Linked DNA regions of Homo sapiens: all the other regions are linked to region 1. Evidence: promoter capture Hi-C in 16 types of primary human blood cells and fetal thymus (Javierre and others, 2016). All regions are on one chromosome and are shown on one strand. Each heading gives the region's core, a stretch centred on a gene start or on the middle of the fragment in contact. The rest is flanking DNA. Distances are from core to core; before and after follow the strand shown. Region 1 holds the start of RCAN1 (regulator of calcineurin 1). Region 2 overlaps LINC00649 (long intergenic non-protein coding RNA 649). Region 3 has its middle 4.5 kb from the start of ATP5PO. Region 4 overlaps ATP5PO (ATP synthase peripheral stalk subunit OSCP).

Evidence for each region. Contacts are between HindIII fragments. The CHiCAGO score rates a contact against its expected background, and 5 or more counts as called.
Region 2: a fragment that was not itself captured here is called in contact with the fragment with the promoter of RCAN1 in region 1 in 2 of 17 cell types (total B cells and naive B cells); the score reaches 7.5 in total B cells.
Region 3: a contact is called between a fragment that was not itself captured here and the fragment with the promoter of RCAN1 in region 1, in 12 of 17 cell types (total B cells, naive B cells, naive CD8 T cells and 9 more). The highest score is 16.0, in total B cells.
Region 4: a fragment that was not itself captured here is called in contact with the fragment with the promoter of RCAN1 in region 1 in 2 of 17 cell types (total B cells and naive B cells); the score reaches 5.5 in total B cells.

The regions. Positions count from the first base shown.
Region 1 is chr21:34,613,791-34,616,490 of GRCh38, forward strand. RCAN1 (regulator of calcineurin 1) reads right to left here and starts at 1,323. Exons shown (of 4, transcript NM_004414.7): 1 at 970-1,323. The coding sequence starts at 1,221. RefSeq lists silencers at 838-937, 1,128-1,557. The HindIII fragment of the contact is 8,899 bases long and covers 1-2,700 here.
Region 2 is chr21:33,937,340-33,940,039 of GRCh38, forward strand. The region is part of intron 1 of LINC00649 (long intergenic non-protein coding RNA 649); the gene reads left to right. Among named protein-coding and RNA genes, the nearest start is that of LINC00649, 7.6 kb to the left of the region's middle. The HindIII fragment of the contact is 171 bases long and covers 1,250-1,420 here.
Region 3 is chr21:33,918,996-33,921,695 of GRCh38, forward strand. It overlaps the pseudogene RN7SL740P. Among named protein-coding and RNA genes, the nearest start is that of ATP5PO, 4.5 kb to the left of the region's middle. The HindIII fragment of the contact is 5,747 bases long and covers 1-2,700 here.
Region 4 is chr21:33,901,662-33,904,361 of GRCh38, forward strand. ATP5PO (ATP synthase peripheral stalk subunit OSCP) reads right to left here. Exons shown (of 7, transcript NM_001697.3): 6 at 2,274-2,360; 7 at 1,792-1,978. The coding sequence ends at 1,865. Among named protein-coding and RNA genes, the nearest start is that of ATP5PO, 13 kb to the right of the region's middle. RefSeq lists an enhancer at 120-715. The HindIII fragment of the contact is 980 bases long and covers 826-1,805 here.

The DNA of each region.
Region 1 (2,700 bases), core at 73-2,572:
ACCATTCTGTTTCACAGTGGTGTTGTATTGGCAGCAGCCTTCAACTATAGTTCATTGACAGCATTTGTGGACCCACAGCCAAGCGCTGAAAGCACTGCTTTTTTTGACAGCTGCTCTCCTAATGGGGCATCTCTCAAAGACCGGTTTCATTCTGTGACGCCCACGTTGTCCACATTTTATTCTGCACAATAACTGCAGATTTGAAATAAATTCTTCCTCCCCACCACCATTATTGATTACTCATACCTGCCCCTCACCCTCCAAAGTGTCTAAATTGTGTGGATTTTGCGGGGGTGGGGGGAGGCGGGGGAAGGAGTCGACTCCCCATGTACTGGGTGTCCCCGATGGCGGCAAGCCACACCTTCACACAAGGGGGCAAGGTTCTTGACTAAATATCCTAAAGGTCTGAAAGATGGTCCCCTTCCCCCCAACACAATTCCACCAAAACTGGCCAGCCGCTGGCTAATGAGCAACCACGGATCCTCACCCAAACATTGGCTTTTCTTCCAATAGTGCAGATTGGGAATGCAGGGACGTCGTCCTATTTATGAACACTGAGTCACGTCGCCGCTCAATGTCTGTTTCCTCCTCCCTAGGAATGAGGTGACCCCCTCCTCCAGCGAGTAAATGCGGGGCGATGGCGAGAGCGCAGGGGGCGGCGGCGCTGCCCCACCTTGGGGAGCGAATTCACCCCCCTAGTCGCACCAGCCTGGGCGCACACGGGGGCCGGGGCGAGCCTGTGGGACTCTGCAGTGAGCTCCGCGCGCCCCGGGGGTGCTAGGGGACCGGGACCCTCGGGGCGCCGTCCCCACGCCCCAGCCCTGACGGGTCCGCGGCCGAGCAGCCCGGGGGACGTCGCTGCCTCCCCGCCCCGCGCGCGGCCGGGACTGGGCGCTGCGACCCGCGCCGCCTCCTCGGGCAACAAGTGTCCGCCCTCCGCCCCGACGGCCCGCCCGGCGCGGTCCTCACCCGGCACAGGCCGTCCACGAACACGCGCGGGTCCAGGTGACAGGCGATGGTGGCGCTGGGCAGGTCCTGCAGGTCCACCTCCTCCATCTCGCAGTCAATGAAGCTCCAGTCGCCGCCGCCCTCGTCCGCCTCGGCCGCCCCCGAGAGGGGCGCGAAGGGCCGCAGCGTCACCCCGGGCCGCGCTCGCGCCTCGGCCGCCTCCGCCGCCTCCGCCGCGGCCCCGAGCTGGGGACCGGCCACGCCGTCCTCCATCCCCGCGCCCGCGCGACCCTGTGCGCCCCAGCGGGCTGCTCCGGGCTTGCGCGCCGGAGCCTCACGCGCTCCGGTCCGCGCCCGGCCGGCGGCTCCGCCGTTAACCCCCTCGGAATCGCGCGGCGGCAGGCGGCGGGCTGTCAGCAGTCTCCCAGCGACACGGCCTCCCAGCGCCAGCCCCGCCCGTCACCGTTCCGCGCGGGAGGGGCAGAAGCCCGGCGCGGCGACCGCCCCCCCAGCCCCTAGGGCCGGCCACCGGCAGATCCAACGGTGGCCCCTTTAAGGCCGGCGCCGGTTGGGTTATTGTACCCCGCCCTTCCAGGAGACGGGGCCAATAAAGGAACGGAATTCTCTTCACGTGACCTTCCTTCTGCCGCCCGAAGCCCGAAGCCTCAGGGCGGCCATGTTGGTTAGGGGCAAAGTCCTCGTCCCCAGTTCCGCTTTTCTGACAGCTGGTGCCAGCTGAAGGACGCCGGGCAGAGTCCTCGGCTCTTGGGCCCTTGGGGTGATAACTGGGGAGGCAACGTTTTTGTGGTTCCCATGCGGGGACGTTTTGAAGCACAGGGGCCCACTTTTGGGAATTTAAGCGAGACATAGTCTCCCTGTGGCTCTGTGGCCCCTGGCAAGTGGTTAGATGCTTACCGTATATTATCAGATATAGTCGCAATAAAGACTGAACTAGACCATGATAACAATGCCTTACTTTTCTATTTCAGCGTATTAGTCACTATACCATTGTGAAAATTTATGTAATTAGAAGTAATTTTTCTGAATTACCATTATATGCTATGTACAATAGGACATAACGAAAGAATTAAGAGATCACCCCTTTCCTTTGGGGAATAGCGGAAAAATAAGAGGACCTCAAGTGAGCAGACATGTCTCTTCCTGAAAAATAGAATTCTTTTTTGGACAGTATGATACAGTGAGAACTTGGGTCTGAATTTCAGCTTTGCTTTTTAACTACTTGTACAAATAAGCTGAATCTTAGTTTCCTCATCTGAAAAAAATGAAGACATATTACTAAGAATTCAGTCAGTGCTTAATAAATGGTAGCTGTTTATGCACTGGGTTCTTTGGAGGTTGTGAAATTACAGTTATATTTTTTCTTAGAGTAGGCTTACTCTCTAGTTAGGAAGTGTTAGTAATTATAACAAAAAGTATATCCAACAGCTGAGATTTATTCAGAACTTGCCATGTGCACGGTTCTATGATTACTATTATCATAGTCTTAGGACAGTTTGTGTCCTCAGGGAGCTAAACCCAAGAGGAATAATAATACCCATCTAGAGATAACTCATAAAATAGAATATGATATGAGGATGTGAAGAAATTGGAACCGTCATACTGTGAAAGGGAAATCTTGGGCCCCCAAAATCACTAAGGAAAACTAAAGCTGGAAGTTGCTTAGAGCCAACCAGCCTCCCATTCCATTCAAAGTCACCCCTCTGCTCACTGAGACAGATGCATTTCACCGAG
Region 2 (2,700 bases), core at 85-2,584, 680 kb before region 1:
CTGGGGTGTTCACTGAACCAGACAAAGCTGGGGGTTTTGGGATGCCAGAGGCCTGTAGTGGGAACAGCTAGGGGAGGACTGCAGCCAATCTGGATAGTGGCAACAGGACAGGGAAATTGACTCTAGTTTTTGCTCAGTAGCAAAACTGTTTTGAAAGAGAATCTCTCCTCTACCTCACCCCCAGGCATGTTTTTTAAGTCTTTAAAAAATACTGTTAAAGCAAACTATATATGGATATGGCCTGAAAAGGACTCCCTACTTCTTCTTTTTTTTTTTTTTTTGAGATGAAGTCTTGCTTTGTAGCCCAGGCTGGAGTGCAGTGGCACGATCTTGGCTCACTGCAGCCTTCACCTCCTGGGTTCAAGAGATTCTCCTGCCTCAGCCTCCTGAGTAGCTGGGATTACAGGTGTCCACTACCATGCTAAGCTAATTTTTCGAATTTTTATATTTTTAGTAGAGACAGGGTTTCACCATGTTGGCCAGGCTGGTCACAAACTCCTGACTTCAAGTGAACTGCCCACCTTAGCCTCCCAAAGTGCTGGGATTACAGGCATGAGCCACCGTGCCCGGCCCCGGACTTCCTACTTCCATATTTGAGTCCTTGTGGACGAACTGCAACCTAACTTTGAAACAGATTGAAACCCTAATTTAGGATTATGACAAGATTGAAATCCTAATTGAGGAGTATGCAGCTGTAACAATTGCCGAGTCTTGGCCAATCCCAGCAGCCTTACTTCAACCGCTCATACACTGCTGAGTGTTCACACTCTGTTCAAATAAGGCAAACGCCGAGCTGTAACCGATCCAGCTGTTTCAGAATCTCACCTCCGATTTCTGTACGTCACTTCCTTTTTTTTTTTTTTTTTTTTTTATAAATTTGTTCAGACCCGAGTCATCCCTGGAGTCTCACACTTGATCTTAGCCAAAAGGCCGAGAAGCGATCATCCCTGGAGTCTCTCTGAATCTGCCGTGATCCTGGGGGCTGCCCGATTCGTGCATTGTTCATTGCTCAATTAAACTCCTTTAAATTTAATTTGGCTGAAGTTTTTCTTTTAATGATACTATGATGTGTCATTATTATTTCACTTTTCAAATTATTCAAAATTATTTTCAATTTTATGGTATGGTACATACCGTAAAATTTCTGTACTCTTTTAAAGCTTACATTTCAGTGGTTTTCAGTATATTCACAAGGTTGTGCAACCATCACCACTATCTGGTTCTAGAACATTTTCTTCACCCCCAAAGAAGCTTCATACCCATTAGCGGTCACTTTCCATTCCTTCTTCCCCACAGCCCCTGGCAAATTCTGACGGTTTTAATGGTTAAATCTTTTCAATTACATCACAAGACACCATGGAACTCATTACTCTTTCTGGCACATAGTAGGTACTTAGTAAATTTTTTTTTTTTGTGATAAAGCTTTCAATTAAGACTTTCTACTCTTTTTGCTGGCATATGTGATAATTTTAAAATTATAGTCCAGGTGCGGTGGCTCATGCCTGTAATCCCAGCACTTTGGGAGGCCAAGGTGGGTTGATCACCTGAGGTTAGGAGTTCGAGACCAGCCTGGCCAACATGGCGAAACCCCGTCTCTACTAAAAATACAAAAATTAGCCAGGCGTGGTGGCTTGCACCTATAATCCCATCTACTCGGGAGGCTGAGGCAGGAGAATCACTTGAACCCGGGGGGAAGAGTTTGCAATGAGCTGAGATCACACCACTGCACTCTGGCTTGGGTGACAGAGCGAGACTCCATCTCAAAAAAAAAAAAATTGTGTTAAACATCTAGAAGAAGACGACATACAGCTGAGTTGGATTTTTTCCCCCTCCTCTCCCATTTAGAAAAGTCTGAACTCAGAGGTCTCATGTCAACTGGATAATTGTTTTATTGGCCTTATTCTTAACTTAGTGTGATTTAGGAAAAGACAAGGACATCTAGAGTCATGTTGTAATCACAGTTCTGTGATATTTCATGTTTTTCTAACTCATAAAAATACAGTGAGGAAATCAACAGCTTGGACTGTGGGAAAAGAAGTAAAGCTGAAACTCTGATACGCACAGGCCTGAGTATGTTGTTTACAGAATGAAAAGCGAGTTCCACATAAGCTGAGACTTGGCTTCAGTCATGCCTGGGAATCTACAAACTCAATGCCCTCTCACTGGCAGAACATAAAAGCTAAAGATTACCCCTAATCCCGTGGCATTTTAAAATCCATGGAATGGGCTTTGGTGCTCAGCAATTTTCACTTAAAGTCACACACTCTTTTGGAGGTACAAATGTTTCAGTTCCCCCAGTAGTATCTCTGGTAAGACTTACCAGAATGAATATTGATGCAGATGAAGACACGATTGTTCTGTCCAGAAGTGATCACACTCCCCTTCACCCCCAAGTTCCACTTTTTAAACAATTCAAATAATGGAAGCTCATGTGACAGCTTTCTGCTGGTAAACCAGAGAATAAGATTCACTGCACTGGAAAAAAAGTGGAAACCACTCACATATTTATCAATGGATGCATGAGTAAACAATATCTGGCATATCCATACAATGGAATATTATTCAGCCATAAAAAGGAATGAAGTACTGACACATGCTACCACCCTGAAAAGATGATGCTGGCCGGGCGCAGTGGCTCACGCCTGTAAGCCCAGCACTTTGGGAGGCCAAGGTGGGTGGATCACCTGAGATCAGGAGTTC
Region 3 (2,700 bases), core at 84-2,583, 690 kb before region 1:
GAGATGGGGTTTCGCCATATTGGCCAGGCTGGTCTTGAACTCCTGACCTCAGGTGATCTGCCCACCTTGGCCTCCCAAAGTGCTGGGATTACAGGCATGAGCTACCATGCCCGGCCTAAAAATGGTAGTTTGGACCTACTCTGTTTCTGACTTGGCTGGTTCACCTCTCCTTAGGCAACCTTGTGGTCCCCTGCTCCTGGGAGGTCACCATATTGATGCTTAATTTAGTGTGGACACCTGACCGGCATGGTGCACTACAGCTGAGAGCTCCTGGACTAAAGCAATCCTTCTACCTCAGCCTCCCAAGTAGTTGGGACTACAGGTGCACACCACCATGCCCAGTCATTTTTTTTTTTCATATTTAGGAAAATTTCCGAATAGATTTCCAGAATTTACACAACTTGGTGAGAGAATATGAGTACTCTAAGAGCCTCTGATGCATGAGGCCAAGCTGCTTTTCAAAATTTTAACCAATTTATACTTTCCGTAGCAGCACATGAAAACCCTTGTTTCACTCTACTCTGCAAACTTTCAGAGACTATTTTCAAATAAGCCTAATGAAAAGTATTCAACACATTATTTAACACAATTTATTGAGCAGCTATTACATGTAGCCAGCTGTTCTATTCACTGAGGCTACAACAGGATACAAGACACAGTGCCTACCTTTATAAACTTTATATTCTATGAGAAATTAAACTGCAAAACCTGTGTTTTCTGAAGTGTGGGTGTTAACAGATGTAATACAAATAAAAAGTTCTAGGGTCAACTATACTTGGGAAACTCTAGACTCTGAATATAATTCAGATGGTTTCTGCTTTTTGTTTTTTTTTTTGCCATTTTATTTTATTTATTTGCTTATTTTTTGAGATAGGGCCTCACTCTGTTGCCCAGGCTAAAGTGCAGTGGCACAGTCATGGCTGAGTACAGCCTCAGCCTCCCAGGCTCAAGCAATCCTCCCACCTCAGCCTCCTGAGTAGCTGGGACTACATGTGCACACAGCCACACCCAGCTAATTTTGTATTTTGTAGACACAGGTTTTTGCCATGTTGCCCAAGCTGGTCTCGAACTCCTGAGCTCAAGCGATCCTCCTGCCTTGGCCTCCCAAAGTGCTGGGATTATAGGTGTGAGCCACCTTGCTTGGCACCACCAACCCCCACTTTTTTTTTTTTTGCCATTTTAAACAATTCTGAATCTTCTAAGCATCTTTTTTTATATCTAGAAAAATTTTGAAATAGATTTCCAAAACTGACACAACTTGGTGAGAGAAAATTGAAAAGCTGCATGGAAAATTAATTATAAGGAGAAAAAAGGAAAAAAAATTAATTATAAGTAAACTGTAAGGTTGCACAGCAGCAGAGAAATACCCTCTGTTTATTTTGTATTTACCCAAGGATGATCTCAAACTCCTGGCTTCCAGATCCACCCACCTCGGCCTCTCAAAGTGCTGAGATTACAGGTGTGAGCCGCCGCGCTTGGTGCCCTGCCCCCAACTTTTTGACATTTTAAACAATTCTGAATCTTCTAAACATATTAAGACACACTTTCTTTCATATCTAGAATAATTTCCAGCCACTTGCACATCTCCAAAATAGTGGTTTATGGTCATTTCAATTTTAGGATTTGTTAACTGGTTGCACATATATGGTTTCATTTTTATTTTGAGTTTTAGGATGACTCGAGATGTAGATGGGCTTGGTATTCCCCCATTTTATAGATGGTGAAAACGTTTTGGATCCTGCTTACGCAGCTTGTCTAGGAAATGGCAATTTGCATCTCAAACCCAGGCACCTGCACCAAGTCCCATCTCTTTCCATCTCTATGGTTGAAAGAATAAGTGAATCATTCAGGATGTGTTTCTGGAATGGGATTTTGAAGCTAGCCTGTATTTTAGTGGTGTGGGCAAAGGGAGAAACACAGAAGCCCTGAAGCCTGATAACACTGCATCCACACCTCCCTCCTGCCTGCTCTTGGATTTCTGGGTGCCTGTAGGCAAATCACTGTGATGTCAGGCCAGGGCGCCATGTGCAAACTCCCATGTGGAGGGAACTGGCAGAAACTTCCCAGCTGTGACACTGCCACACCCTCTGCTATGCAAGAACAGAGCATTTGGAAAGGAACAAAAAGTTGTATCCTATAAGGGAAGAGGCCGGGCGCTGTGGCTCACACCTGCAATCTAAGTACTTTGGGAGGCTGAGGTGGGCAGATGGGCTTGAACTCAGGAGTTCAAGACCAGCCTCGGCAACATGGTGAAACAATGTATCTACAAAAAAAAAAAAAAAAAAAATTAGCTGGGCGTATGGTCCCAGCTACTTGGGAGGCTGAGGTGGGAGAATCACTTGAACCCTGAGGGGCAGAGGTTGCAGTAAGCCAAGATCGCACCACTGTGCTCCAGCCTGGGTGACAGAGTGAGACCCTGTCTCAAAAAAAAAAAAAAAAAAACAAAAAAAGAAAAAGAAGTGAAGAGACTTAGCACTCTGCAGTTATCGCGCTTTCTCTCTGCACAAACTCAAATCATTTAAAAATGAGTTATTTTAATATTTTAGTAGTTGAGGCCAATGGAGTCAAAGGTACTTGCCCAAGGCCACAGGGCAAAACTCGGACATCTAATCTCGATGTTTTTGTTTACACTGACCTTCAATTCAAAATAAATATTGCTCGCTGTTTTATTTTCTCTACAAAGAAACCATATGCAGTGGT
Region 4 (2,700 bases), core at 66-2,565, 710 kb before region 1:
GGCGTGAGACTGTCTCAAAAAACAAAACAAATCATTGTACATAGATCTCTAGGTTCTCTCTGGTGACCTCGTAAGGCGACATATGAAGGGCCTCATCATTCCCCAAGATTGTATGTGCTTGATCAACAGGAAGCTTGCTGAGTTTGACTCTGAAGGATCTGGGCAGCATCAGCAGCATGAGGCTCCCGCAAAGACGGTTTGTCCATTGGCAGTCACATGTCTGTAGGAGCTGTGATTGTGTGTATGACGCCACCTTCTGCAGAGCAGGCCTCACTGCAGGCAGGAGGCAGGCAGTGAGTCTGGGGGAACCTGGAATGTGGTCATGGTTAGGTTGCAGACTCAGCTGCGGAGACAGAACTCAATATCCCGTGGCTTTGAAGAGAGGTCTATTTCTTCATCGTGTTTAACAGCCCAGGGGCAGCAGTAAGGCTTGGCAGGGTGGCTCTGCCCTTGGCATCGCTTGCCATCTTGTCTGCATCTAGCTAGAGGGATGGACTAAGGATTGCTCAAGAGGGCAGTCCAGGAAGGCACACCTCGCTTCCTCTCCTTTCCCATTTGCCAGAACTCAGCACCAAGGTCAGGTGCTGCCAGAGGCTCAAGAATGTGGTCTCTAGCTGAGTAGCCCTAGGCCCACCTAAAAGGTGGCTGAATGGTCTTCGGGCCAGCCAGCAGCCTCAGCACTCCTGGTTCCTGGAAAGGTTGAGGGGCCTCAGCACTCCTGGTTCCTGGAAAGGTTGAGGGGCCTCAGCACTCCTGGTTCCTGGAAAGGCTGAGGGGCCACGTGGTGTCTCCGTTGGTTGTCACATTAGGTGATCATGTATTAAAAGCTTTGCCAGGAGGAAGCTGGAGTTGAAGCCAAGCATGAGTGTCAGGAGTGTTGTGCCACATGGAGGGCACGCCAGTCCCAGCACTAGCACATAGGGAGCAGCGCTGGGCCATGTCATTGCTCTGTAGGACTTCTTTGCTGCAATGGTCCTGCCTCTGCCCAACCAGGGGTGGTTCTGGGAAGGGAACTGGTTTGTTGGCCAAAAGTTCTTGGAGGTTGACTAAGGAACAGGCACCTGAGCGGGCTGTTGCGTGGGGAACTCTGTAACTATTTTCTCTAGAAGACCAAAAGGTAAAATGTAGTGGAAGAGCTGACCTGGGAACTGGTTTTGGTTAAAAGGTGAATTGGGAGCATCTTAGGGACAAAGCGGGAAGGGGCAGGGGACCTACCTAAGGTAACTTTTGCCCGTTTGCTCCAGCAACGTGTCGGCGCATGGTGTTAGTTATACAGTGGTAAAAACATGGGCTGTAGGGCCTGACACCAGCTGTCCAGACAGGTGACTCTGAGCACATCTCTAGGGCCCCTCAATCTCTTTCCTCATTTGTAAAGTGGGGTGATGTCTCTCCCACCCGTGTGACAAGGCTGTCATGCAGCTTCAGATGTACATGAAATGGCCTTGAAAGCTACAGAGCAGCCTACAACTAGGTGTGTTCATGTTAGGATCAAGGGCAAGAGGCCTCCCTGGAGGGCTATGGATCAAACACAGATCCGATGATCTAGTAGGGACCAGGAACTCTGAACAAACCCTTAAAGACACGGGATTTTGGCAGGCAGGACCAGATAGACTTTGCTGAGTGACCATGTGTTAGGTGCTGTGTCTAACCAATTAATTCCTAAACATAATCTACTCAAACCAAATTCTCTAGGCCAAAAGGGCTTTTTGGCCTTTATACTCAGGGGATACCAAAAAAGGACATAAAAATAAAGCCTTCTACATTCCAGTTTAAAAGACAGTGAACATAATATGATCTGTTCTGGAAGCTTTTTATTGTTGCTCCAAGTTTAAGAATTTTCACTGATGGCAGAAAACCAACACTTTTAGACAATCTCCCGCATAGCCCTGCCCAGCTTCTGAATCTTGGTCTTGACAGACATGTCAACATATTTCTCGCCAATGCGCACAATCATTCCACCCAAGATTGACGGATCAGTCTACAAAAGAAGTAAGACTGGAAATGTGAAAACGCGCTAATCAAATGGGACACACAAAAAAGTGTTTTGAAAGGCTAAATGTGTTGCACAAATGTAAGAGGTTATAATTACACCTAGAAAAAGGCAAAAGTAAAACTGCACAGTCAGATAATCATTTAAATTTAAAATAAATACAAAATTTTAACTACAGAAAAATTAGTATAGAGTTAGATCTAATATTTCACTAGTACTTTCTGTAGCCATTTTAAGCTTAAAATAACCCGAGAAAACGTACCATAAATAATTTAAAACCTACCTTAGCCTCCAATTTCAATACTTGGCCTTGACTTAGGAAGCTCTTGAGGACAGTTTTTAATTCAGAGAGTGTGGCTTCTTCTAAAGGCTGAAAGGCAAAACCATCCTTTCAATTTAGATAAAGCAAAACAGAAACTTCCAGAGTTAAAATACCCCAGGCCCACATCACCAAGACAGGCCTTGTGAGCTCCTCCCTTTGCTACCTGGGCCCATCATGGAGCTGCTCTGCAGCATTCACTCCTTGTTCACGCTGGAGGTTCAGGGAGCACAGGAAGGCCCTGCCTCACAGCATCACCCGGGCAGCTCCCACTCAGCCGTTCAAGGACGGCCTGTAAATGCCACTCCCTCCCTGCCTCTGCTCTGTGTGCTAGCAGTACAACTTGGAACTAACAAGGAAAGGCCTTCAAGTTTCTAATGCCTGAAGATGC